Linked DNA regions of Homo sapiens: regions 2, 3, 4, 5, 6 and 7 are each linked to region 1. The links are contacts of gene promoters, found by promoter capture Hi-C in blood cells and fetal thymus (Javierre and others, 2016). All regions are on one chromosome and are shown on one strand. Each heading gives the region's core, a stretch centred on a gene start or on the middle of the fragment in contact. The rest is flanking DNA. Distances are from core to core; before and after follow the strand shown. Region 1 holds the start of LINC02880 (long intergenic non-protein coding RNA 2880). Region 2 overlaps LOC105377949 (a long non-coding RNA gene). Region 3 overlaps LOC105377949 (a long non-coding RNA gene). Region 4 overlaps RFPL4B (ret finger protein like 4B). Region 5 has its middle 37 kb from the start of RFPL4B. Region 6 has its middle 150 kb from the start of RFPL4B. Region 7 overlaps LOC105377949 (a long non-coding RNA gene).

Evidence for each region. The method cuts DNA at HindIII sites, captures the fragments that hold promoters and counts their contacts. A CHiCAGO score of 5 or more calls a contact.
Region 2: a fragment that was not itself captured here is called in contact with the fragment with the promoter of LINC02880 in region 1 in 5 of 17 cell types (neutrophils, megakaryocytes, fetal thymus and 2 more); the score reaches 9.6 in neutrophils.
Region 3: a contact is called between a fragment that was not itself captured here and the fragment with the promoter of LINC02880 in region 1, in 11 of 17 cell types (naive B cells, M2 macrophages, total B cells and 8 more). The highest score is 19.7, in naive B cells.
Region 4: a fragment that was not itself captured here is called in contact with the fragment with the promoter of LINC02880 in region 1 in 1 of 17 cell types (total B cells); the score reaches 5.1 in total B cells.
Region 5: a fragment that was not itself captured here is called in contact with the fragment with the promoter of LINC02880 in region 1 in 7 of 17 cell types (total B cells, megakaryocytes, naive B cells and 4 more); the score reaches 10.0 in total B cells.
Region 6: a fragment that was not itself captured here is called in contact with the fragment with the promoter of LINC02880 in region 1 in 2 of 17 cell types (erythroblasts and megakaryocytes); the score reaches 5.8 in erythroblasts.
Region 7: a fragment that was not itself captured here is called in contact with the fragment with the promoter of LINC02880 in region 1 in 9 of 17 cell types (neutrophils, M1 macrophages, fetal thymus and 6 more); the score reaches 9.5 in neutrophils.

Annotation. Positions count from the first base shown.
Region 1 is chr6:113,902,936-113,906,510 of GRCh38, reverse strand. It overlaps LINC02880 (long intergenic non-protein coding RNA 2880), which reads right to left and starts at 2,124. Exons shown (of 4, transcript NR_027060.1): 1 at 1,767-2,124. The HindIII fragment of the contact is 3,143 bases long and covers 1,654-3,575 here.
Region 2 is chr6:112,731,161-112,734,827 of GRCh38, reverse strand. All of the region lies in intron 2 of LOC105377949 (a long non-coding RNA gene), which reads right to left. LOC107986634 (a long non-coding RNA gene) reads left to right here. Exons shown (of 6, transcript XR_001744303.1): 3 at 2,893-2,975; 4 at 3,117-3,231. Among named protein-coding and RNA genes, the nearest start is that of RFPL4B, 390 kb to the right of the region's middle. The HindIII fragment of the contact is 3,035 bases long and covers 99-3,133 here.
Region 3 is chr6:112,765,220-112,769,062 of GRCh38, reverse strand. All of the region lies in intron 5 of LOC105377949 (a long non-coding RNA gene), which reads right to left. All of the region lies in intron 2 of LOC107986634 (a long non-coding RNA gene), which reads left to right. Among named protein-coding and RNA genes, the nearest start is that of RFPL4B, 420 kb to the right of the region's middle. The HindIII fragment of the contact is 2,264 bases long and covers 555-2,818 here.
Region 4 is chr6:112,348,972-112,352,919 of GRCh38, reverse strand. RFPL4B (ret finger protein like 4B) reads right to left here. Exons shown (of 3, transcript NM_001013734.3): 2 at 3,599-3,727; 3 at 1,626-3,316. The coding sequence starts at 3,211. The coding sequence ends at 2,420. Among named protein-coding and RNA genes, the nearest start is that of RFPL4B, 3.6 kb to the right of the region's middle. The HindIII fragment of the contact is 209 bases long and covers 2,191-2,399 here.
Region 5 is chr6:112,308,309-112,312,328 of GRCh38, reverse strand. No RefSeq gene overlaps it. Among named protein-coding and RNA genes, the nearest start is that of RFPL4B, 37 kb to the left of the region's middle. The HindIII fragment of the contact is 1,172 bases long and covers 1,298-2,469 here.
Region 6 is chr6:112,493,139-112,496,674 of GRCh38, reverse strand. No RefSeq gene overlaps it. Among named protein-coding and RNA genes, the nearest start is that of RFPL4B, 150 kb to the right of the region's middle. The HindIII fragment of the contact is 710 bases long and covers 996-1,705 here.
Region 7 is chr6:112,748,976-112,753,028 of GRCh38, reverse strand. The region is part of intron 5 of LOC105377949 (a long non-coding RNA gene); the gene reads right to left. All of the region lies in intron 2 of LOC107986634 (a long non-coding RNA gene), which reads left to right. Among named protein-coding and RNA genes, the nearest start is that of RFPL4B, 400 kb to the right of the region's middle. The HindIII fragment of the contact is 2,563 bases long and covers 1,463-4,025 here.

The sequences.
Region 1 (3,575 bases), core at 875-3,374:
CCACCTGCCTCCTTCTAGACAGGGGCTGGGGCCCTCCACATGAGGCCTGCTGTCCGTAGCCCCTCCACGTGAGGCCTGCTGTCCCTGGGCCCTCCACATGAGGCCTGCTGTCCCTGGGTCCTCCATGTGAGACCTGCTGTCCCTGGGTCCTCCACGTGAGGCCTGCTGTCCTTGGGTCCTCCACGTGAGACCTGCTGTCCCTGGGTCCTCCGTGAGGCCTGCTGTCCTTGGGCCCTCCATGTGAGGCCTTCTGTCCCTGGTCCTGTGGCTGCATCTTCCGGTGGATGCAACCACGGCCACATATCCATCTCATCTCTACCACATCTGAGTCACAGTTTCTAGACCAGAAAACTCTTGCTAACGTTTAGGATTTAGACAGCATCTCTTTGCTTCTCTTTTCCCAATTTTAGACTTCCCTTGTAAGGAATGAAAACCATTATAATTCTGAGAAACCTAGGCCAGACAAAGCCTCATGGCCATTTTCCTCAGCTCATAGTGCCCTACTAGGCCAGGGGCAAGGTCACTCTCCCCGCAATCCACCCATCCTGCTCCAAGTCAGGAGCCCTCACAGAGTTTCTCAGCTTCCCACTAGTAGGTCTTTGTTCATCGCATTCTCCCACATTGAAGCAAATTGGAGCTACCTTCTTTTTTCCCTCCTCTTGGGAGTTGCTTTATTTTGGGTTTCTTTGTACAAATTGTTGCCATAGCCCTTGATGGGAAGGATCAAGATGGATCCTCTCATCCTTCCCCTTACTGAGCAGAAGTGTCTGACCCTCTGGCCTTCTATGAACCATTGGGACCCACACACAACATGTCAGATCCAAAGAGCACTGGCCTCCGAACATGGAAGTAGGTGGGCAACTGAAGGAAAGGTGAATAGTGAGAACAGGGGAGGGGAGGACAAACGGAAGAAGGGAAGGGCCGGGAGATAAGACATTGACATGTGCAGTGAGCTTAGCTGGGCATGGTGGTGTGAGACTGTAGTCACAACTCCTTGGGAGGCTGAGAGGAGAGGGTCGCTTGAGCCCAGGAGTTCACATCTATCCTGGGCAACATAACGAGACCCTATCTTTTAGAGAGAGAGAGAGAGAGAGACCAGAAGTCCTGGACATAGCCAGGCTGTGGGCAGCCCACGGATGAGGTGAGATGTCAATGTGATCACCCCTGGAAGTGAGAAGGAAGGTACGGTGGGGTTATTGAATACACTGTGTCATTCAATTACTGTCATCGTTTGGATTTTATATGGGATGGGGGCTGGGAATTCCTGGTCTACTTGTGCTGGAGAGATGTTTAGGCTTTCTCAGATGGTTAATAGAGGGCACCAGCAGTTGTTTGGTGGCATTGGAGGAGCAGCTTTTTGTATCCCAAATGACCCTTTTCAGATAAAATTGAAGCTGGATTGAGACTTCGGGAGGATAAGTATAAAGTTGTAAGTGGGTGGGATAGAGAACAGCCATGCGAATGTCAAATCTCCTGTCTTTTCACTCCTGTCTTAGGCCGAATGTGAGGTGCCCCGTTCTTTCCTTTGGTGGAGCCTTTGAAGATTTTTCTTTTCTTTAAAGCTCACTTAGCAGTTAAAGACTTGAGATGGGCTGTAAAGCTGTGAAAAGCCTGGGAGGAAATGGTGTTGACATGAAGGGGTAAAGCCAAGCTTGGAGGGGTGCCAGTGGCAGGGACCCACACTAATTCCTCTTGTTCTTATGCCCTTCTAAATATGTCTCTGAAGCACAGGAGAACATTCCTAGGGAAAAACAACGTCCACTCACCTCATTCCAAGAAAATCTGTAACAACGTCCAATTGTCTTTGAGAGGAAAGAAGATGACATTGGGAGACACAGCATCTAGAGGAAAAGCGAGAACCACTGGTCTTCCTTTCAGACTTCACAGTGGGATCTTGGCGCCTCGGATAAACAAAGGCACTGGCAGGAAGGAAAGCGAAAATCAGAGGAGAGGTCTGGCAGGCCACAGCCAGAGCAGAGGCAGTGGGTGAGAAAACCCTGGGTTTGAGGACCCTGGTTCTCTTCCCTAACAGCCTTTGGGTCCCTCTTTCTGAAACAAGGCTTGAGAGCATGTCCTCTGGCCTGGGGGACTTGGGTGAGTCTGAGGCACCCCAGGTAGCAACGATGGCAGGTTTTGCACTTGAGCTGGGGAGAAAGCCAGTGGTGCTGAAAGCAATGGAGATTGAGGTACAGAGATCTTCCTGCCGAACCCATTCCCAGGCTTTCTGCCTTTCTAGGAATGGAGAGAGAGAGAGAATGCCTTGGCTGGTTTCCTGAAATCCAGTTCATGGAGCCACAGCCCCAGTGAGTGCTCACTCAAGAAACAAAGGCTCAAGAGAGGACAGGCACCAGCTAGGAAACTCCACTCCGAAAGGGATCAGCTGTTGCACTCACAGGCACACTGCTTTGGTCCAGGAAGTCAGTAAAAGGCAAACAGGATCCCAGCGAGGTCATTTGTTTTGGAGAAGACAGAGGGAGGAGGAGGGAGGGGCAGCCGTGTGAACGTGCAGTTATGTCAGGGCCTCCCCAGATCCCTGGAACGTCCTGCCTGAGCACAACAGGGAAAACCTCCCCCTGCTCACTAGCCCTCGGGAAGTACAGTTCTCACTGAATGTCTGTCAGCATAATTAAAAAATGAACACCCTTCCAATCGCAAGATCAACGCCAAGGGTTACCTTCCTGGGGAGCTGTCCAGGGGGAGCATGGTTTCCTAAGAAAACTTTTGTGATCTGTGTAGAATATTTTTGCCCCTATTTTTTTTTTTTTCTTCTGAGACAAGATCTGGCTTTGTTTCTATCAGGACATGTTTGGATGTTCTTCCAGAAAGTCTACTGGTAAGAGAGCTCAGTTGGTCTTCTAGGAGAGATAATTGTTGACATATCAGGGGCCAAAGGCTCATCTCTTCATTCCCTGCACTTGGGGAAGAGGTGGCATCATTTCACCCTTAGAGCACAGGATAAATATTATGATTATTCAAGCAAAAAGACATTCTACTGGCTACTTTTGATTTAGCATTACAGTTTCTAATTTATCCCAAAGATGCACTGACAGAAATGGAAAGATGTATTCACAAGGCCACCTATCACAGCACAATTTGTGTATTAGAAAAAACTCAAATGTCCATCAATAGGGGACCCTCAACTATGGTACATTCACACAATGCAGTAGTACACAGCTGTAAAAAAAAGAAGAAGAATATCTCTACATGCAAGTATGAAAAGATTTCCAAAATATATAGTTGATAAATATTAAGATATAATCGTTAAAACTCAAAACAAAATGAAAAAAGTCAAACCTAACTAGATATTGAGTTGGTGGCACATCCTCTTGGGAGAAAGTATTTCAAGTGACATTAAAACCTGGGAATTGACTGTAGACCTCAAGTGGGATATACCCTTAGAACAAAAGGAACTGCAAAAACACACACACACACACACACACAGACACAAACTTCAAATGTTTCCAGTAATTACATCGTCATGGAAAGTTTTCCTATTATTATTCTGAGACTATTGTATATGTTTCCCAGTATAAAACAAGTGAGTAATATGTAGGTGTTGTTGGGAACCAGAAATT
Region 2 (3,667 bases), core at 367-2,866, 1.2 Mb after region 1:
AAAGTCCTGATTAGGAATTGTATGTAGTCACTTCAGATATAACATCCATTATTTAAAAAGAGAAAGCTGTGATCATGAATGAAAACTGACGGAAAGCTTTAATTTAAAAAATTGCATATAAATTTAGTGTGTAATACCTTCCTAATTATGTGTATGTTACTTTATTAAAATTATTTAATATAAATAAACCATGGCTTTTTTTTTTTTTTTTTACCAAGCCCCAGGTAACCTCTATCCAGCTTACTGTACAAAAATTGTCATTGCACTCTGATACAGTTTGGCTATGTCCCACCCAAATCTCATCTTGAATTGTAGCTCCCATAATCCCCACATGTCATGGGAGAGACCACATGGGAGTTAATTTAATCATGGGGGCGGGTTTTCCTCATGCTATTCTAATGATAGTGAATACAGCTCATGAGATCTGATGGTTTTATAAAGGGTAGTTCCCCTGCACACACTCTCTTGCCTGCCACCATGTAAGACGTGCCTTTGCTCCTCCTTTGCCTTCTGTCATGATTGTGAGGCCTCCCCAGCCATGTGGAACTGTGAGTCCATTAAACCTCTTTTTCTTCATACATTACCCAGTCTCAGTTATTTCTTCATAGCAGTATAAAAATGGACTAATATGAAATGAGCTAATTGTTTTTGGAAAGGTTAATCTTAATGAACTAACAGTGATTTAATAGTTGCAAATGCTAACTTTAAAAAAATAAAATACTGAAATTAGAGGTGTATTGAGTGATACATTTCCATTCCCATTATTAATTTAAAATATCCACAGAAAATGTAACTTAGATTTTGAACTCTGTATTGCATACTTAATTATCAAGAGTTTAAAACTGGGGTAAAATAAAGTGGAACAAAGAAACGTAAAAGAAGGAAAGCACAGGAATAGCTGAGCAACCAGCTCAAGAAGCCACAGCTACTCTGACTCATTCATATACTGGCTCAATATTGAACACATGAGTGTGTACAGAAGATTTTAAAATGTCCCACTGATATTTTCACATATACTTCAAACAGTAATTCACATATAAATTGCCATATATTGTTCATATATTTTAGTCATTAAATCTATTTTACATCTTATCTAAGTCATAATGATTATAGTGAATGTAGGCACAGATGCACATATATTTAGTCATATATACAAGACCGTTTCTCCTTTACAATGGAATTTTAAAATGTTTCAATTCGATAATGATACTATATCCCAAGCACTAAACACCAAGGAGACAAATATGGTATGACATAACTGACCCATAGGCCATCATCAGTTCATTAAAAGACACAATATGTAGGGCCTAAGCTAAGACAGGGAGGGTAAGGGTAGAAAAGAGCAGAGAGAAAGAAGCAAGACTTAAGCGTAGAATTAATAGATCTTGACAACCAAAAGGATGTTCATGGGGGTTATGAGATTGAGGAAGAGAAAGAGAAGATTCAATAACTGTTTGCATCAATTAAAAATAGTGTTTTTTCATAAAGATAGAGATTAAGAGGAAAAAAACAATTTGTGAGAACATATTTAGTTTGGTTATGGGCATGTGAAGTTCTTGGTGTAAGCATTTAATTCCAATCTGTATCTTACGAGGAGAGAGGCCAAGCAGGAAGTATGTTGATTTGGAATTTATTTATATATGTGTTAAATGTGGAAAGTAAAAAGTGAATGGTGTTGCTCATAGTATGAAATTCAGAAGAAAAAAGAAGCAAAGACTGAATTTCTAGAGAAAATCAGTTTTTTGAAAATAGAGAAATAAATGAAAGTCTGATAGAGAACAACCAGAGAAGGCAGAATCAGAGGGAGATAAAGTCCTGAAACATGAGTATGGTTGTTTCAAGTAGAAAGAGTAGGCTTAATTACCAAAAATGTCCAAGACAAGAGAAGAGGCTCCTGAATTAAACTAGTAAGAGGTGACTTATTAAACCTGCATAAGCCATAATTCAAGATAGATAGGATTTGGAGGCAGATCACCACTGGCTATAAAATCAAACTAGAAAGCCTTTGCCAGGATCTGTAGTAGACTTAAAAATTGTTTAATTTGCATCTTACCTCCCTTCTGAGTTTTGGGGGAGTCTCCATTATGTGTAGTGTTGGCAAGAGAAATTGCCCCACTTTTGTTACAGAGGCAACCAGAGTACAGGACATGTGATGAAGTCTTAGCTAATCATATACTCCCACCTAAGACTTTATATCTGGAGAGAATAAGCCAAAGACAAAGTGAAAGTTGTAATTCATTTGTAATAGTCCCACAACAGTGGAGACATCATCCTAGCTAGCCATGTTTCTCCTGGTGAAGATGGTTGCTGTATTTCTTATATCTCAATCTGAAACTGTCTTCTTAACGTATGCCTATTTTCAAACCTGTAGTCCAAGGTGCTGTTACGTCTACAAGCCCTGGAGAGTCTTTTAATAAGTCTAATTAGTTTTCATGTGCTAGGTGCAGTTAGAGTTTGCTGTATACAAACAGTAACCCTCACTAAAACAGCCTCAAAAAGTTTACACGAGAATATTTAGCTGTGTCTTTTCAAAATAAGTTTTTATTCTAGTTCCATATATTTGGTTTGCCTTTTAAACATCATGCTAGTCTTAGTCTTCTGAGATCCTCTCTATGTCTATAAAAAGTGCTTAGGGTATTCACAGAACTGAGCAGTGCTTTAGGATATTTCCCTTTACTTTCAGCTAAGATATATATTATATATATGATATAATATATATATATCTTATATAGATAGACATCGATAGGAGTAGTGTGTGTGGGTATGTGTGCGTGTGTGTGTATCTTTTAGTGGTTATTGTGGTGAAGTATTCCTTGATTCAATGTATATATTAAATTGAATGTTATTGTCCCCTACTATTATTTATTCTCCCCTTCCTCTTTTTATTAACAGAACTTCCCACATACACCCCTTTTGGCTGAGCTGTATGGCCATAAGCGTAGAGACTTGCAGCTGTATGTGGCCGTGAATGAGAGGTATGATCCACAGTCATGTGCACAGCTTCCATTTCAAATCTTTTAAAAAGGTGCTTGACTTCCATGTTCTCTTCCCACCTCCCTTGTGCTGGTGAGATATCTTTCATCCTGTAAAGAAATTTACTGGAATAAATTCTCTAGACCCAGAGATGGAAGCTTCACAGCATTTGTGGCAGTAGCGGCAGAAATGCATCACACATTTGAGTCCCTAGATGGCCTTGTGGAGAAACGTCTACCTGCCACCCTGGACTATTAGGTAAGAGAGAAAACCATTCTATTTTATTTATAAATTTTGTGGAGTGTCTTCTGAAAAACAGTTTAGAAAAGACCCTAAATAATACCTCCTATAAAGCAAAATTTTCCACCAAACCTAGTATATTCATATAGAGTCATGTATTGTTTCATGATGGGGATACATTCTGAGAAATGCATTGTTAGGTAATTCATTGGCCTGTGACCACCATAGAGCATACTTACACAAACCTAGATGGTATAGCCTACTATACACCTAGATTATATGGTATAGCCAATTGCTCCTAGGCTACAAATCTGCACAGCATGTTACTGTACTACATATGCAGGCAATTGTAACACAATAGTATTTATTTGTGAAATTTCTTTAGATATGTATATATTTTATACATATCTAAACATAGCACAGGTACAATAAAAATATGGTATTATGGCATTAT
Region 3 (3,843 bases), core at 437-2,936, 1.1 Mb after region 1:
TGTGTATTTTTACTGAGTCTATAGTTATCAAATTCTCAAAAAAGCTGTGCCCTCATGAAAGTTTAAAAGCGTGAATTTTTAAAAAGTTTCTATCAGGAGTCACTAGCATACAATATAAATGCATAAACCCCATCAGAGCCAAAAAAAACTATCTGGTAATGTTCTTGAGTGGAAGCTTGATTACTAGAAATAAAAGTTGCTTCCAGCTTCTGGGATAGAGAAGATATTAAATGTAGTGGCCTTTATCAAGACAGAAAGGGGTGGGGAGGAGAAGGTTCGGACAGGGACAGAAGGATTGGTACAAAGAATCAGGAGTTGTGATTTAAACATTCTACGTTTGAAAGGGCTTTATGCTTCTAAGCAGAGATCCTGACTAAGTGGTTTCATGTAAGAATCTGGAGCTCAAGGGAGGTTACAATTCTGGAGAGTAAATTTGAGGATTATCATTTTATGTATGATATTTAAAGCCAAGACACTAGAAATGAAACTGGGAAGAGCATTTAAATAAAAAACAGAAGGCAGCTCATAACCAAGTCGTTCCAATATCTGAAGCTTGGAAATACGCGGCAAAATTACCAAAGGACAGTGAAAAGGAGTGGATATAAAGGTCAGATAAAAATCAGGAAATATTGGTATTTCAAAAGCCAAGAGAAGAAAGTGTTTCAAGGAGAGAGCTCAACTGTGGGAAATGCAGCTGAAGGAACAAGTAAGATGAAAGAAAAAAGTGACAATTGGCAAAGTGGAGCTGAGAGAGAGCCGTTTTGTCAGAGTGACTGGGAACAAGCCTCACTGAAGTGGACTGAGGAGAAGCAGACAGGAGGTGGAGGTAGTGACGTTAAGCAAGCATATAAATAATTATAACATTCATGTTACCAGTATTATTTAATGAAAATCCAAATCCTCTTTCATTAAAAATTTAAAAATTTTTTAGTAGGAAAGTCTCAATTGGAACACTGGTGTGTGCATGTGTGCATGTGCCTGTGGTGTGTGTGCATGCATGCATGCCTCTGTGGGGTGTGTGTGTGTGTGTGTGTGTGTGTGTGTGTGTGTGTGTAATTCTCCTTTGGCTCACTTGCTATCCCTGTCTGGGGTCTCTGAAACCACCACACGTCCATGAGTCACCAGGAGGACCCAAAGGACTCAGGACTTAGCATGTAGTCATACTTATGGCTATGACTGATTACAGTGAAAAGATGCAAAGTATTATCAACAAAGGAAAAAGGCACATGGGGCCAAGTCTGGAGGAGACCAGGCACAAGTTTCCAATAGTTCTCTCCCAATGGAGTCAGACAGGACATGCTTAATTCCTCCATCATCAAATTGTGACAACCCATATGAAATATTGCTGATTAGGGAAGCTATTAGAGACTCAGTGTCCAAAGTTTTTATTGGGGGCTGATCACATAGACATCCACTTCTTAGCACATACCAAAATCCCAGACTTGCAGAAGAAAAGTAGGTGTTTGACACAAATCACATGTTTGTAAAAAACTATTTAGGCATGGAGAACCCCTCTTATCAATTACAGAACGGTAGGAATTGTCCCAAAAATATACAATCCTAAAATCAGCCAACAGTCAACCCTACTTTCTAATGATAGCAATCTCAGGCCTGCTATGTTTTTTTTGTTGTTGTTTTGTTTTTTTCTTTTTTTTTTTTTTGAGACGGAGTCTCGCTCTGTCACCCAGGCTGGAGTGCAGTGGCGCAATCTTGGCTCACTGCAAGCTCCACCTCCCAGGTTCACACCATTCTCCTGCCTCAGCCTCCCAAGTAACTGGGACTACAGGCGCCTGCCACCATGCCCAGCTAATTTTTTGTACTTTTAGTAGAGGGGGGTTTCACTGTGTTAGCCAGGATGGTCTTGATCTCCTGACCTTGCGATCCACCCGCCTCAGCCTCCCAAAGTGCTGGGATTACAGGCATGAGCCACCACGCCCGGCCAGGCCTGCTATGTTAACTCTTTTCTGTACATCATCCAAAGTTGGTTGCATCTTCTCTGTGTCTAACATGATTTTAGCAGTTTTCTGAATTCAGTGCACACCCATCAGAAAGGCTTAACAAGGAGAAAGGTAATGAGTGAGCGAACATTATGTGGTTTCAGCCAGTTTATCCATGAAGTCTGACAGTCAAGCAGACTCATCCACCCACTCGAGGGGCAGAGCAATGGCTTTGGCTTTCAAAAGAACTGTTAAGGGCATAAGGAGACCAGAACTTAAAATAAATAGAATATCAAATGATAACATTATTATGTAATAGTGCTTAACAAGCCATTCTAGCTCCTACCTTTTATCTGCCATTCAAATTATTATATCTAGATACTAGTATTTCCCAATTGTTGGAAACAATGCCAGACAACACCCAGAAGATGGAAGGTCAAAAGAAAAAAGGTTGAGGTGTCAGTCACACAAAGAGACCTACCCTGTTCAAGACCAACTCTGGTTTCTGGTAGTCTATTCTAGGTATCTGTCGCTGCATAAGAAAAGATCCTACAACCCAGTGGCTTAAAGCAATAACTATTTTACCTTAGAATTCGTGTGCATTAGAACTTTGAGCAGGAGTTAGCTGAGTGATTCCTGTGTTGTTTATGAGTATCCCTTTGTAGTTTTCAACTTGTTTAGGTATGGTCTGGAGGGAACAAGATGTCTTTACTCATATGACTAGCATCTTGATGGTGATGGCTCAAACACCAAACTCAGCTAAGAATATTAACCAGGGCACCTTAACATGACCTCCTTAAGTGGTTGGTCTCAGGGTACTTGGACTTCTTACATGCAGGTCCAGACTCCCAGAGAGAACTTCCAAGACCAAGGTGGAAGCTTCAAGGCTTTTTCTAACATAGCCACAGAAGTTCCAGAACATTATTATTGCTATATTCTATCAGTCAAAGAACTCATTAAAGCCAGCTAAGATTCAAGGAAGGGGCAATTAGACTTTACTTCTTGATGGGAAGAGCAGCAAGCAATTTGTAGCCATGTTTAGTCTACCACATTTACTATTTCCAAATTTCTCCTCTATTATTGTGAACCATCGTTGTCTCTTGCCATGCTTTTATTCTCATTTCATTCATTAAAAGGCAGGGCACTATTTTTCAAAAGAAGGATAACTCCACTTCTCTAAGAAGTTGCTAGAAGACTATATTAATTAGTTTTTCCTTCACACCCATAAAGCACTGTTTATTTTGAAAAGCAAAGGACCTCCAGGAACTTCTCTTGGATCTATATATGTGAAATAATAATAAATTTATCTGATATGTAAATATGATGTAAGACGTATCTGGGTCTGTTCTCTAAATAGAATGGAGAATTATTTTTTCCCATAATAGCCTAGGGTTTAATTTAGTATAGGGTAACATGATAGGACAGGGAAAAACAAAATTCCTATAAGGGAAATGACATTAGCAAAAATATTTGAGGAAGGTGTTTAAAGTGATTCAAAATGTGAAAGTGAATTCAGCAGTCATAATAAATGACTATGTACAACCACAAAGCCATTAGAGGCTAGTTGGATTTTTTGTTTTAGGACTGGGATACCATGAACTAATTTGTATACATATATTAAATATCTTTTACATATTAAAAGTCACAATTTTCTTCTTCCTACTATTAATAATTATCCTGTTAAACTATTCACAAGATAAAATGATAACTAGTTTTCAACTAGAAGGACTTATCTATTTCTAAAGGCAAAACAAAGTAAAGAAGGTTCTTTTTCAATATCATTAGCAAAGGAGTAGTCTGTCTACAAACAAGCTGTATTATACACAATATCACAAAGTGTGCATTTGAGTTTTAAACATCATCCAAATTTACTTTATGTAGATACCACTTTAGTAATTACTTTAAT
Region 4 (3,948 bases), core at 1,046-3,545, 1.6 Mb after region 1:
TCTTCACAACCTCACCAGCATCTGTTACTTTTTGATGTTTTAGTTATAGCCATTCTGACTGGTGTGAGATGGTATGTCATTGCGGTTTTGATTTGCATTTCTCTAATAATCATTGATGTTGAGCTTATTTTCATATGCTTGTTGGCCACATGTGTTCTTTAGAAAAACTTCTGTTAGTGTCCTTTGCCACTTTTTAATGAGGTTGTTTGGTTTTTTTCTTGTACACTTAAGTTCCTTATAGATGCTGGATATTAGACCTTTGTCACATGCATAGTTTGCAAAATTTTGCTGTCATTCTTTAGGTTGCCTGTTCAATCTGTTGATAGTTTCTTTTGCTGTGCAGAAGTTCTTTAGTTTAATTTGATCCCATTTGTCCATTTTTGCTTTTGCTGCAATTGCCATCTTTGTCATGAACTCTTTGCCCATGCCTATGTCCTGAATGGTGTTGCCTAGGTTGTCTTCCAGGGTTTTTATGGTTTGGGGTTTTACATTTAAATCTTTCATCTATCTTGAGTTGATTTTTGTATGTGGTGTAAGGAATGGGTCTGGTTTCAATCTTCTGCATATGGCTAGCCGGTTATCCCAGCACTATTTATTGAAAAAGGAATCCTTTCTCCATTGCTTGCTTTTGTCAGGTTTGTCAAAGATCAAATAGTTGTGGGTATGTGGTCTTGTTTCTGGGTTTTCTAATCTGTTCCATTGGTCTATATGTCTGTTTTTGTACCAATACCATGCTGTTTTGGTATTGATACAAACTATACTACTGTAGCCTTGTGATGTCTCCAGCTTTGTTCCTTTTGCTTAGCTTTGGCTAAAAAATAGCCTTGGCTATTCAGGTTCTTTTTTGGTTCCATATGAATTTCAAAATAGTTTTGTCTAGTCCTGTGAGGAGTCTCAATGGTAGTTTAATAGGAATAGCATTGAATCTATAAATTGCTTTGGACAGTATGGCCATTTTAACAATATCGATTCTTCCTTTTAATGACCATGGAATGTTTCTCCATTTGTTTGTGTCATCTCTGATTTCTTTGAACAGTGGTTTATAGTTCTTGTAGAGATCTTTCACCTCCCTTAGTTAGCTACATTCCTAGGTATTTTATTCTTTTTGTGGCAATTGTGAATGGGAGTTCATTCCTGATTTGGCTGTCAGCTTGACTCCTGTTGGCATATAAGAATGCTAGTGATTTTTGTACATTTATTTTGTATCCTGAAATTTTGCCCAGTGTTAGGGAAGGGCAATGAGTCCCCTGAAATAAAGTTGTAGAGATCAAAAGAGAATAAAGAGAGGAAAATGGCTATCTCCCTACTCCCAGTGAAGTTGGAAAGAGAAGGGAAATGACAATTCTGGGTCTCTCTAGAAAGGAAGTCAAAGGCAGATTCCAGAACATGCTCAGACCCCAGCCCTTTTGGGGCAGTTGTAATCTCAGAAGTGGCTGACTCAGTAAATCAGAAAAAATACAACCCTAAGAGACCTGAATATTTTGAAAAGGAGCCATCATGAGTGTATAAGGATGACATATTGGAAATCACAGTCTGGGACCATGTAGCTGTGGTGGAGGAAGAGGGGTACCAACTTCAGACTGTATGTGAGAGACGGACCAAACAGCATAAACATGAACACATCCAATGCTTTATAAATTTATTTGCAAGAAAATAAATTCTACAAATAAAAAATCCAAAAGCAACCTTGAAAACAATTTTTGATGAATATGTGTTAGTTAACATGGTTGATAAGAATTCTTATAAATCACAATAGTCCAATTATTGAGATGGGTAAATGACACTTCCCATAAGAATATGAATCACCATTAACAATGCATTTTGGTCAAAGTTCTTTGTCTTTCAAGAAAACTTATGTGGCTGTGTTTCAAAGAAAATAAAAATGAAAAACTTAGTTCTTCCCCAATATCAGTTTGTCTCTCTGAAATTTCATGCTGTATCAACAAAATAACTCACACTGGCTGTTGAATTTTTCTTCCTCCTCAGACATTATCAGGAATTACACAAAACAGCTTGAAATAATGAAAAAGATATTGTCTATCCACAAAACCTAATATCTAGCTTACTTACAATCTAAGATTTCTCTATTTGTTATTTACTATAAGACAAAGGCATAGTATTGTCTCTAATTACCACAGCTGTTTGACTGAGATACAATTATCCGCATCTACAGACTAGAAAACTGAAGCTTACAGTACTTAATAACATCCCTAAAGACCCCAGTTACCTAGCTACAAATTCCACAAAATTTACCCCAAAAATCCGAAAATTGTTTTGCTACAAAGTCTACAAAATCTACTTTAAAAATTTACCAAGTCTTTGCACTATAGCACATTATCTCTTCCTCAATCATGCTGACCTTTCTCAGGCCAAAATTCTCTTTCACCTCTCAGAAAGCTTCTAGGAAGGGCTGACTTTCTCATGGGCAGATGGTCAGGACGTTGCCACTCTCCCCTTCTCCCAAGAGCTCAAGACAGAAGAATGGACACAAAAGCTCCAAAGAGAAGAAACCATCATGTGTATAGATGAGGACATTATTGTCAACATCAAAAAACTGGATTTCTTCTAAGTCAGCATCCAGGAAAATTCCCACACGGCGAAGGCGAGGGCTTGCAGGAATTCTCTCCAGGTGGGTGTTAGCATGGATTGCTCCTGCCTTCATGCTGATCCAGAAGCCATGCTCAGGGAATAAATCATTGCTCTTTCTGTCAGCCGGCTCCTTGCAGACGCCCAGGGACCATGACTTCACCTCTCCCACTTCAACCTCCCAGTAATGTTGGCCGGAGGAGAAGCAGGGAGTACCCAGGACACAGGCCAGCCTGGGATCTTTTGTCAGATCGTGGTGGATCTTCTTACACTGAGCGCTTCTTAGATCATTGGAGAAGACAAGGAGGGAGCTGGCAGTGGCTGCATCCAGGGTCACATCCTCCCGAAAATGCCGGAGCTCCTCCCTCACGTGCAGACTTTGCTCAAGTCGGCTATTGTGCTGCTTGGTCATAAGTGTTAGGACGCTCACTTGCCATTCTTCCAAAGCAGGTACCTTCACCACGTCTCGACACAAGGGGCACATCGCTCTAAAATCATGGTTTTCTAGTATATACCTCTGGATGCAATCAAAGCAGAACACGTGTGTACAAGAGAGAGAAATGGAACAGGAGAAAAAATCCAGGCAAACTGGACAGGACAACTCTGCTTGCAGGCGTTTGGCCATGGTTCTTAAGGGTTACTCCTTAGCCGTGAAGTAAACTGAAGTGATCCTTTATTGGCTTCTGGAAGCACTTGGGAGCCCTCAGTACACAATCCACTCTTCAATAGTCTAAATCCAAGATTAAATAATATAAATTAATAAATAAGTTATTGGCATACATAAATGAATTATATTATTTAATAAATAATAATAAATTTATTAACTAAGAAATTAAGAATAACAAAAAAATAATATTTCTGCAGTTTGTGTATGAAAGTGACACTAAATTGCTAGAGAATCACAGTAATGTAGTCATGGTGATAAAAATGATTTCGAAACTCTTCAAACTCTAGATAATCACAAGACAGAAATAGGACAGTGGAAACTTTCTTTTCAGACAGTGCAGCTTACCTAGTCTGAAGACTTCCAGGTGATGTGTTGGCTGCTCCGGCCAAAGTTTCTCCTAATGGGGGCTGAATTCAAGTGGGTCTTTAACAGAATCTCAGTATAGTCTCCACTCAGTATTTCTTTGTAGATCCTCTGCAGTTCAGGAAAAAGAATGTTCATGTCTAAATTCAATAATGAAAATAAAGCCAATTCTACATTAATCATCACAGAAAAGTGACTCTAAGGAATCCTCAGAATTTCCAGGAAAATTACCACATGTGAGTAAAGCCAGCAAAATCCACTGCAAAATGAGAAGCCCATAAAAGAATCAAGTTTAAGGACAAAGTGTTATTAGATGAAATGCTTTAAAGCAC
Region 5 (4,020 bases), core at 634-3,133, 1.6 Mb after region 1:
AAGGGCAGAATTGATGGATTATTAACTATGCCAACTGGCATCGTGGAATTTATGTTTTCTTTGTTATGTAAAATGTACAATCATAACAGAAACATCAAAAACCTGAGAAGGTTCAAGGAAGGGCATAAAACAAATGTAATTCAAATTTTACTGTAATAAATAAAACTAACAGCAGAGGGCTCCCCTCAACGCCTGGCAAATTCTCAAAGCAGAGAAACTACAAATGGGGCACGTTTCTGGTAACCTCTGGTTCCATTCGAAATTTTCTATACATAAGAGAAAAAAAAAACAACTATCCATTAGTAAATAAATTACAAATACAATATTTAGACCTGCAGGTGCTAAAATTCCTTTTTCTCTTTAATTTTGTTTTCCTCACTGTGCTTTTTGCTAATCAGAAACTATTGAAGTTATTAATGCAATAATTCAGAAGGTTCTGGATGTAAAATGCCCAAAGACAGTAGAGGGATTTCTATAGCCTCTCTAAAGTATTTCAGATTATCCACCTGATTACATAAACAACATTTCCAGAAAATTGCCATTTTTTTAACCTATAATCCTGGTATCCAAATGTAGACATTACAAACGCAAGGGAGCTGTACTCAACAGCTAGGAATCTTTAATAATTTGAGGCCTTGAGGAGAACTGACATCTGGTGAAACACCAAAATGGTTTCAAAATAAATCAAAATACTATTTATACTTTTAAAAGATATTTTGAAAGTATTTTGAGTTATTTACAGAAAACAGTACTCTATATAGTAGACTCTGTGTAGGTCATCCATGTTTTCAACCAGCTATTTTTTTATTTATTATGGAAATATGAGTTAAAGTAGCCTTTGCCTCAAAGTGTTGTCATTCATTTTGCACTTTGTCCATAGAAAATGCAATGATTTTTTTCAAAGGCCAGTTTTGTTGTAGGTCAATCAAGCACTCATTTGAATGCTGATTTATTTTTATGGAGATGCATATTTTTGATGGCTTCTTTGGATTCATCACAAGGTATATCACTAACTACACTAGGAGTCAGCAAATTATAACATAGTGGGGGCCAAACCCAGCCACTGCCTGTTTTTGTACGGCCTGAAAGCTGAGAATTATTTTTACATTTTTAAATGACTGCAAAAATCAAAAGAATTCTAACATTTTATAACACATAAAATTATATAAAATTCCAAGTTCAGTATTCATAAAGTTTCAAATTTCATCAATAAAAATTTTGTGGAAATCTGTTTTCTTCTCCTATTATGTAAGTACTTACATGATACTCTCAATTTTGCCTCTTGGCCCACAAAGCTTAATTTTTTTTTTTTCCATTTGACTTAATACAGAAAAAGTTTGCCAAACTCCGAACTATGCAAAATGCCAAAACCATTATTCAATGCTCCTTGGGTTATTTAAAATAATGCAAGATTTGCCCCTTTAACACTATAACCTAATCATCTGCAGCACTGGTTCCCAAAATAATCTGTACTTTGGAATTACTGGGTAGCTTCAAAAATTATTGATGTTTGTGTCCTTGCCTGAGATTGTGACTTAATTGGCCTGGGGAATAACCTGAACTTTTAAAAGATCCCCAAGTGATTCTACTGTGAAGTTTGGAAACCACTGATTTAGTGCTTTGGCAAGTTCAATCCTCCCAGCTTTATCTGGGCGCTCCCTTCTACTGGCAGCCCTTTTTGCTCTTCCTCCAGCACATGGCCCTCTGCAGCTAGCCCCAATTCCCCCAGATCACTTAGGCCTTTCATTCCCACCACCAGAGCTAAGTGACCTTCTCACCAACTCCACTGAGAAGATCAAGGCCAACCCATCCCCAAGTTTTCTTGTTTTACTTCCTGAATGAAATTCTTCCCTCAAGTCCATTCTCTCCTCTCCAGTCCTTCTAGAGGGAATACACCATAGTGGCTAAAAAGGAGTCTTCAATCAGGCAGACATGAATTTAAATCCCTATTCCCATAATCCCAGCACTTCGAGAGGTCAAGGCAGATGAATTGCTTGAACCCAGGAGTTCAAGACCATCCTGGGCAACACGGGGAGACCCCATCTTTACAAAAAATTAAAAATAAAAAAATTAGCCAGGCATGGTGGCATGGTGGTGCCCACTCATAGTCCCAATTACTCAGGAGGGCAGATAGCTTGAGCCCAGGATCATACCACTGTATTGCAGCCTGGGTAAGAGAGCAAGAACTTGTCTCTAAAAAATTGCAATAATAACAATAATAATAATAATAACCCTATAGGGATTTTTGTGAAAATTAAATGCTACTCACAGTGTATTAAATTAAATGTTACTTACTGCTACTTACAGTGTTGTCCTTGGACTAACATCTTCAGCATCACCTGGGCACTTGCTAGAAATTCAGAATCTCAGGTCTCACTCAGACCTTCTGAATCAGAATCTTCATTTTAATGAGATCCAATAGTGATTTGTGTGCACATGAAGGTTTGAGATTCGTGGTGCTAGGAAGCTTTTTATTTCTCTTCACAGTCCACATCCAGGCTGTTTCATCCTAGCCCTTCGACAGTTCCCAATACACATGATATTGATGATGCCCTAGAGTGTGGCTTTTACGTAGAAAAGGAGATTTGCTTGAGTTTAAAAAAAAATTAATGTCAGCTATGTATAGGACAACTTGAAATGAGAAGAGACTGGGGTGGGATCGAGGTGGTTAGGAAATACAGTGTCACCTTCGTGCAACTTAGGAAAAGACACTCCCTCTGAGCCTACAGGACCCCATGCACACCTGGTGAACTAAGACAGCCCTTGGGCAATTGAGAAAATGGTGCCCCTCTGGGTTGACACCACCCTGTTTCAGAGCAGGTGGCTTGCCAAATGCAGCAGGGCCTCAGCCAGTTGTCCTCAGGCAGTGTGTGGCAACCATGCAGAAGGAGGATTGGATGGGATCCTGAACTAGGGCGTGGAAGATTGGAATGAAAAGCAAGGATGGATTCTAGAAAATGCTGAAATGGTGGAGGGCAATGGGGGAAAGACAGGGAGGAATGTGGACCTGGGGTTATTAAGGAAGACTTCTGGGAAGAGGCAAGATTTGACACAAATTCCAAGAGTTTGTAAAATTGAGGTGTAGGATCAAATATTCAAGATGCTATGAACAGGATGAGGTTATGAGAGTGAAGACATTTAGAGAACGTCAGCGGTAAAGCACCATATGGCAGAAAGAACAGTGGACTATAATCAGGGAGGTGGTATTAAAGAGTCTCAATTCATTCAGCTATAAATACAAATTTTATTTTCTTCCAATAACTGTCCCCAATAATCCCAGATCAAATCCTCCCTAACAACACCTGAGCCCTATTCCATGTTTTCTTAGTCTCTTTGTTTCATTTAGATTGCATGTTGTATCTCATTCAAAACTTCCTTTCCCTTTCCCTAGCCAGGGGTGTAGTCTTTATCACATGCTTTCCCTTTCCTCCCTCTTCCCTGAGCTATTCCTTGAGTATTGGGGCAGGACAGTGAGGTTGCAGACCTCTCCTGCACAGCCCCCTCTGCTTGTCTGTGGCTCCACCATGCTTCACCTTCTCCAACATGCTCCCTCCATGAAGCAGCTCTTGACACTGGAAGCTCCTTGAGAAATTTGGCCACATCTCTGGCTGACCCCAGCTGACATTATTGCATCACATTTCTTTGTCCCTCACTGGGGAATTGCTCTAGAGATAATTGCCCCTGTTATAGGAAAACCTCTGGCATGTTAAAATTTTAAAGAGTTTATTAGAGCACATGGCAATTCATGAATCAGGCAGCTCCAAACCAGAGGTAATTCAGAGCTTTGACAAAGAGACATGAGGGGACGTTTTTATGAGGTGAATCAAAGAAATTGTTTGATTGGTTGAAGTTTGAGCAACTGCCTTATTTGAACTAGCCCAGTGGGAAGTTTAAGACAATACAGCTAATGCCCATTTGGCTGCCTGTGATTGAATGAACTTAAGTTTTATTTTCTTTTAAATTCTGAGTTAGATTTAGGTTTGCTTACATAGGAACCCAGGGCATTAGAGTCACCTCAGT
Region 6 (3,536 bases), core at 101-2,600, 1.4 Mb after region 1:
TAATGGTTCAGCTTTATTCTTTTACACATGTATTATCCAGGTTTTCCAGCACTTTTATTGAAGAGACTAACCTCTCCCTATTGGCACCCTTGCCAAAGATCTTTTGACACTCTATGTAAGAGTTTTATTTTAAAACCACATTCAAATTCTATAAAAAGGCAATAAAATTTCTAGAGATAATTGCGACTAAAAAATGGATTAGAAATCCATTTGCATTTATCTTTTGACTTCTACTTTGAGTGGGAAATGTTTGTCAACAACACTGGAAGTGGTTTTAAACAGAAATCTCCCTGAGTTTCGGGACAAGCTGATTATTCAGCACTATTTGACAGTCACCAACTAATTATTTCCATATTGCCAACTCATGACTAATTTAATACAAATATATAAAGACTAAGAATAGAAAACTATTGAATGTGTTTCCTAATCAATGTATTAATCTATCTGCAAATGAGTTTTGTATCATGAATTCAGTGAAAAACTAGGAAAATTTCTTCCTCTTAAATTAAGCCATGATCACTTTCATTAACACATATTAAAATGTTGTTTACTCTTTAATTTTTATACCATGATAATTTTTCTAGCTATTTTAAAATATTGGTCGTTTATGCCCTAAATATCAATTAAATGATTGAAGATCACATTTTGAAAAGCTCTGTTTTGATTTGTAACTATACAACTGCTAAAACAGTGCTATCCAATATAAGTGTAATGCAAGCCTCATGTATAATTTTAACTTTTCCAGTAGCCACATTTTAAAAAGCAGCAGGTGAAATTAATTTTAATAACATTTTATTTAGCCCAATATATCCCATATATTATCATTTCAATATGGAATAAATATTTAAAATAGTAACACATTTTGCATTCTTTTTTTCATTCTAAGTTTTCAAAATCTGGGCTATATTTTACACTTACAGCTCATCCCAGTTTGGAGTAGCCATATGTGACCAGTGGCTATTGTATTGAACCACATGGTCCTGAAAGCTCAAGCTTAGAAATCACATTTTCTGATCAGAACTTTCTGTCCATTCATTCCTTCCAATATTTTTCTCTCATTAACTCTAAATTTAAACTTCATGGAGTCCTTCCTTTATCCTGTGATACTATCCTTCCCAGGATCCATCGATTCCCTCTTGCCTGTGTTATGAAAGCTCTCGGTTTGCTTGCTCTCTAACCAGTAGGCCTCGCTTGCCAGACCCTTCTACAATGTGGGATCAGTTTAAGGACTCACTTTTCTATTTCTTCTCCAGAACCATGAGCACTACTGAAAAAAAAATAGTCTTGCTGATTAGTACCATCTCACATTGCTTCCATTCACGCCCAGGTGAGTCTTCAATGCTCCACTATGTATTCACTTCATTGTATTCATTCCTAGGCACATTCACTTTCCATTCTCTCAGCAGACAGTCCAAACTTATAGCATGCTCCTAATGTCTTCCTTCCCTCTCAACCCTGTGGATAGCATAGATCCGTACTTCATAAAAAAATAGAGTAGAACATGCACGACAGGCATCCTCCTCTTCAAGGCAAATCCCTTCCACCTGAGCTCTTCATCCCATTCCCCACTGAGATCCTCAATGACTGAGTAGAGAACAAGAAGACAGATGCCATTCATGTTAAATATTGATGTAATTACTCAGTGTCTTACGGAAACTTTAAGTTATAGTTCCTATTCTGGTCAAGATATGTGTTAAGCAAAGCTTTCCAGTCCTCAGTTTCTGCATCTTTAAAGTCAGATTGGATGAATTCTGTTGTCTCTTTTAGCTCCAGAGTTTTAAACTCTACAGTCTCAGCATAATATCAAGCAAGCTTTCAAGTGTTGAACAGACACAGAAAAAAGAAAAATGAGTATGTGTAGAACCAGGTGGCCTCTGTTCCTTTCTGGCTCTGAAACTTTAAACAGAGACCAGAACTCCTTCAAGATTCTGTCTCCTCATCTACAAAATTGAAATAATAATAACAACTTCACAGACTTGCTCTGAAAAATTAAAGAAATAGCATCTAGATGGAAAAGCTTCTCCTGAACACTGCCTGTTCCAGAGCAGAGACTCGGTTTCCATCTCTGTTTTAGGCATGGACAGAGGCATTATGGTGGTCATTGCCTGTTTGCACACAGATCTGTTCCTGCCCTTTACCTGCAAACTAAGTTTTCCAGGTTCCCTCACTAACTGGCTTTCTGCCATGTTTGGCCACCAGAGACAATGGTGGAAGACTAAGGGTAGAAGGGGAAGAGAAATAGAGTGTTTCTCCATCTTTTTTCCATTCATCAAGCACCATTTTACATGATTCTAGCTCCCTGCCAGATACCACCTACCTTGATGGTCCTGTGTCGTTTATTACAAGAGAAAATCCTTAGTCCTGGGTTCTGCTAATACCACCTTCTCTCTGTGTCCCTCTGCCCCTAGAAGTAGAGTGATGTCTTGAGATTCTTTCCTCTGTTTGTAATATTTAGCAATTCCTGTTTCCTGGTTGGACCCTGATGAAGACAGTCATGATTAGTCTCAACTATCTTTGAAAAATAGATGAGGATGATAGTCTGAAATTAAGAAATAAAGTCAGAAATCTATTCAGTTGCAATGATATAATCTTATACTTTGTCAAAATCAAGTCTTCATTATATTAATTTCATAGCCTAATGCTTCATTTCAGAGTTTCTTAGAGAAGTTCTGAGTTCATAGAATGAACAAAATTGGAAAATATAAAATTTGGTGAGTCCAAGATACCACAGCTGGGCTTAATCGCAAATTTACAGGGTAGAAGTTGTGTACATTGAGCTACACTGCATCAGACCAACTAGATTTTATGATACAAAGTCCAATTTTTCCACAACATATCATTCTATAGGTAATAACTTACATTGTTTGAAACTCTTCTCCCATTCCTGCAGGCCTTGCTCTGTTGGAATACTAGGTTTCTAATGCTAATCTTAACTACATTCTCCCCTCTTCATGCTGCACTGCAATGGTTTATAATGGATTCACATGTGAAAACTAACATTTTCAAGAAATAAAATTTAAACTTTTCTTGGGCCTATATGCTGAATAGAAAGTCATTTCTTCTACATCACATTATTTCTCAGATACACTCTATCTTTAGCTAATAGGGACTTAGCTTGCCAGGAGTTCAAATCTCCTAAAAATGTCTCATTAACAGGTTTCCCTGACCTTCTAATTGTGTCTACTCACGTGCCCTCCTGGGGCAATGTCAAACATTCAAACATTGCATCTACTTGCTTCTTTCTTGACCAATAATTTGTCTAAGCTTCTGCATAGCTGACAAATAGTTGGCTTTACATTTAGTATCTCACCTAGAGATAGAATTTACAGTATTGTATTTCATTCTAATATTATTCCATACATAACAGCTGTAACCATCCAAATAATTTTCATAATTCTCACAAACATTTATGGAACCTGGCACTTTTCCAAGCACGTTACGTACATTCATTCATTCAATATTCACAACCACACTGAAAGGTAGAAAGCACTGTTTTCTCCATTTTACAGATGAGAAAACTGAAGTACCTAGAGATT
Region 7 (4,053 bases), core at 1,495-3,994, 1.2 Mb after region 1:
ACTTGGATCAGTATATACATATTTCCTTGCTTTGTCAGTTGAGAGGGCTGAAAAGCAACAACACTCCAATAGCAAAGAGCACACATAGCACTCAGATATTGGTTTCTGATACAATTCTTCAGTAAAAAGAACTAGATTACTCAGAGAAATGTCTTACTCTACAACTGAGGGAAGAAATATACAAGATGAGCCTGTAGCACCTTATAGTGCCAGAAAGTAAGCAAATGCTAAAACAAACAAATAAATACAATGATGAGTGTATGTCAAAGAAACTTGAGACAACTGAAAAAGCTCCCATGAATAAAACTGTAATAATTGGAGCAAGAAAAATATATATAGTATTGAATTATAATACAATATATAAAATAAATAGCCACGAGTTCATACTGATACGAACAAACAACAAACAAATACATAAATCAATGGTATAGAATGAACAAATTACCCATGCAAAAGAATTCCAAATAATTTATGTAAGTACTCTTCTTTCCAGGAAGTGAAGCAAAACTTCTGTAATATGGGCTGCTTACAATGACTTCCTTCCAAAAAGGGAAGTATAGAAACAGAGAAAAATTACTAGCTTTACACTGAAGAGACCTAACAAACTCTTCCCTCCACCAGATGATTAAAGTTAACATCAACAGCAATAAGTCATGTTGCTAGCCTAGCAATGTACTCTTAATATGAAGTGATAGGAAAGTAAATTTAATTCTGTGATATTCCTCCCCCAAACCCATAAAACAGTCAAATCAAAAAAGCAAACAAAAAAATCAAATAAACACAGTAAATAGACATTCTACAAAATACCTGACCAGTACTCTTCAAAAGTATCAAGGCCAACAAAAGCAAGAAATAACTGAGAAACTGCCGTGGCCAAGAGAAGCCAGAGGAGACATGACGACTAAATGTCATTTGGTATGTGAATCGGATCTTAGAACGGAAATATTAAAAGGACATTAGGTTAAAATTAACGAGATATAAATTAAGTATGGGTTTTAGTTAATCATAATGTGTTTATATTGGTTTATTAGCTGTGACTAATGTACCATAATAATAATGTAAGGTGTTAACAATAGGGGAAACAGTGTTGGGTGTATGAGAAATCTCTGTATAATTTTTGTTAACTTCTCCATCTAAAACTAGAATTTAAAACTATGCTAAAATAAAAAGCTTATTAAAAATTAGAGAAGTATCTAATTTATGAATACAGATGTAGAAATTTAAATATTTGCATTTTTAATAAAACAGTGCTTTGAAAGGCTATTTCACCTAAACAAGACAGTTTTATTCTGGTCATCAGAATAGAGGCACAGTGCAGCGCATTAATTATTCCCAGGAGCTTGGTCTTTCTCTTTCCCAGCTCTGCTACCTTGGTCAGGTTTTTAATTAGTAAATCATCTCAGAGTCTGTAAAACTAACACAATAACAACTTCCAGGATTAATGAGATAATGTGAGTAAGCTTCTTAGTACTATTCTGGTACATATTTAACACTAAATCTATGGTAGATTTGTACTATTATTCTATTATTATTTATTATTGTTAAAAATATCACTTTGGGAGGCCGAGGTGGGTGGATCATGAGGTCAGGAGATCGAGACCACCCTGGCTAACACGGTGACATCCAGTCTCTACGAAAAATACAAAAAATTAGCCGGGCATGGTGGTGGGCGCCTGTAGTCCCAGCTACTCAGGAGGCTGAGGCAGGAGAATGGCGTGAACCCGGGAGGCAGAGCTTACAGTGAGCCGAGATCACGCCACTGCACTCCAACCTTGGCAACAGAGCGAGACTCTGTCTCAAAAAAAAAGAAAAAAAGAAAATTGTTCATTTAAAATGTGCTAAAATTGTGTTAAAATCACAAAAGGCTAAACACAGGACAAAGGATCTTCCCCCAGAATAATAGTCATTCAATAAACGTTATATTACTATACATAGCACAGTTATATTTGAGATATCAAAACTTAGTTTATTAACATTTGACCTACTGCACATTATACTAGACACAAAATATGCAACAATGAAATGAGAAATTTTTAACCCACCTAAAATCTGATCATTTATACACTTACAGGTATCATTGAGAAAGAATTAACCCTTATTTAAAAAAAAATCCTTTCAATGATTTTCTAAAAGTCCTTGGCTAATTTCAACATACTTAATAAGAGCTAATTATATTTCTGTTATTATCTCACAGATAACATCTTTGGGAGTTTCAGGAAGAATGGTCTACTTTACATTAAAACTATGCAAGACAGGGAAAGGAATACAGATTAAAAGGAAAATTATAATCATTTTCATATCATAACTGAAACTCTGAAAGCGCTTACATTCCTCCAAACTTTGTTCTAAGAGATTTACATATATTAACTTAATTTGTTTAAGATTGGACTTACATGGTCTTAGAAGAGAAGTACCTGTACAGATCATGTTGCCAAGCTCTCTCATTTTATAGATAAGAAATATTCATCCAAGCTAAGCTAAGTTCTTCAGATCACACAGCTATTTAGCAAAGTCAAGGCTAGGTGAGCTTCCTTATCTGATCTCTACCCAATACATCTCACTTTCACTAATATTAAAATAATATTGTGTCAATTTGATTGGATTGAAGGACACAAAGTATTGTTTCAGGGTCTATATGGGTGTTTCTGGGTGTTGCCAGAAGAGACTGACATTTGAGTCAGTTGACTGGGAGAGGAAGATTCACCCTCAGGAAGACCCACTAACAATGTGGGTGGGCACAATCCAATTGGCCTCCATCTTTCTACCGTGCTGGATGTTTCTTGCCCCAAATGTCAGACTCCAAGTTCTTTGGCTTTTGGACTCTTGGACTTACACCAGTGGTTTGCCAGGGGCTCTTGGGGCCTTTGGTCACAGACTGAAGGCTGCACTGTTGGCTTCCCTACTTTTGAGGTTTGGGACTGAGCTACTACTGGCTTCCTTGCTCCTCAACTTGCAAAAGGCTGATCATGGGAATTCACCTTGTGATAGTGCGAGTCAATTCTCCATATATATGTCATATATACCAATAGCATACTAATAGACATATATGCTATTAGTTCTGTCCCGCTAGAGAACCCTGACTAATACATCTGTCAACTCACTCTCATAAAACGTATCTATAAAATTTTACGTGTTTACTGTTTCTCCCCACAAAAGCAACTAAAACATAGCCCAATGGATATAGGATCTGCGTTATATTATTCACTATCATGTCCTTAGCAGCCACATCATTCTGAATAAGTAGTTTGTGAATACATATTTGTTGGCTGAATGAATTATTTCTCAGTTTTCACCTCTGTCCTTGTGATGGTTTCATACATCCCAAGGAGACTGTCTGTGGTTTACACTTCAGAATGGCACTCAGATATACCTGGAGAATCAAGTCTCTTTGATGGTTAAGAATTGATCAATGCCAGACCAGTCTTCATGAAGCCCAATCTTCCTAGTCCTATAATGAATCACATTAGAAATTACAGGCCTAAAAACTATTCCTTTCCCATTAATAAAATAAAGAATAAATTCTGCAGTTGAACTACGGAAAGTCTCCAATGAGGGGCCTGAGGAAAAAGGAATAGAAAGTAGCATCATCATCAAATCTGAGCAAGGCTTTTATTTATACTAAGTTGATCATCAAGGAACAGCACCAGTTCTCCACATCATTAGATGCAGCCAGAGTCTATCCCAATTCCCTAATTCTTCTAGTCCTCAATGTTTCCCTTTGTGCAGCAATAACAGTGCTTTTTAGAACTTCATTATTCATATGCATTGAAGGTGCTTCCTTAAATCACTACAATACAGTTAGAAAAAAAAAAAAATTGAAATTGACCCCCCCACACACACACATATTGCTGCTGTTTAGAAGACAACTAAAATCTAAATAAATTCAAAGAGATTTAAAATGTCTCACTTCTTGGAAATAGTTGAGAAGAGTTAGAACACAGGCTAGTAAAATGACTTACAAACTCTACTTACTAATAGCATACACACAAGTTCTGGAAAACTACATTCACACAAAGAACTAAGCTTGCTCATTTTGCAATGCTATGCATTTGC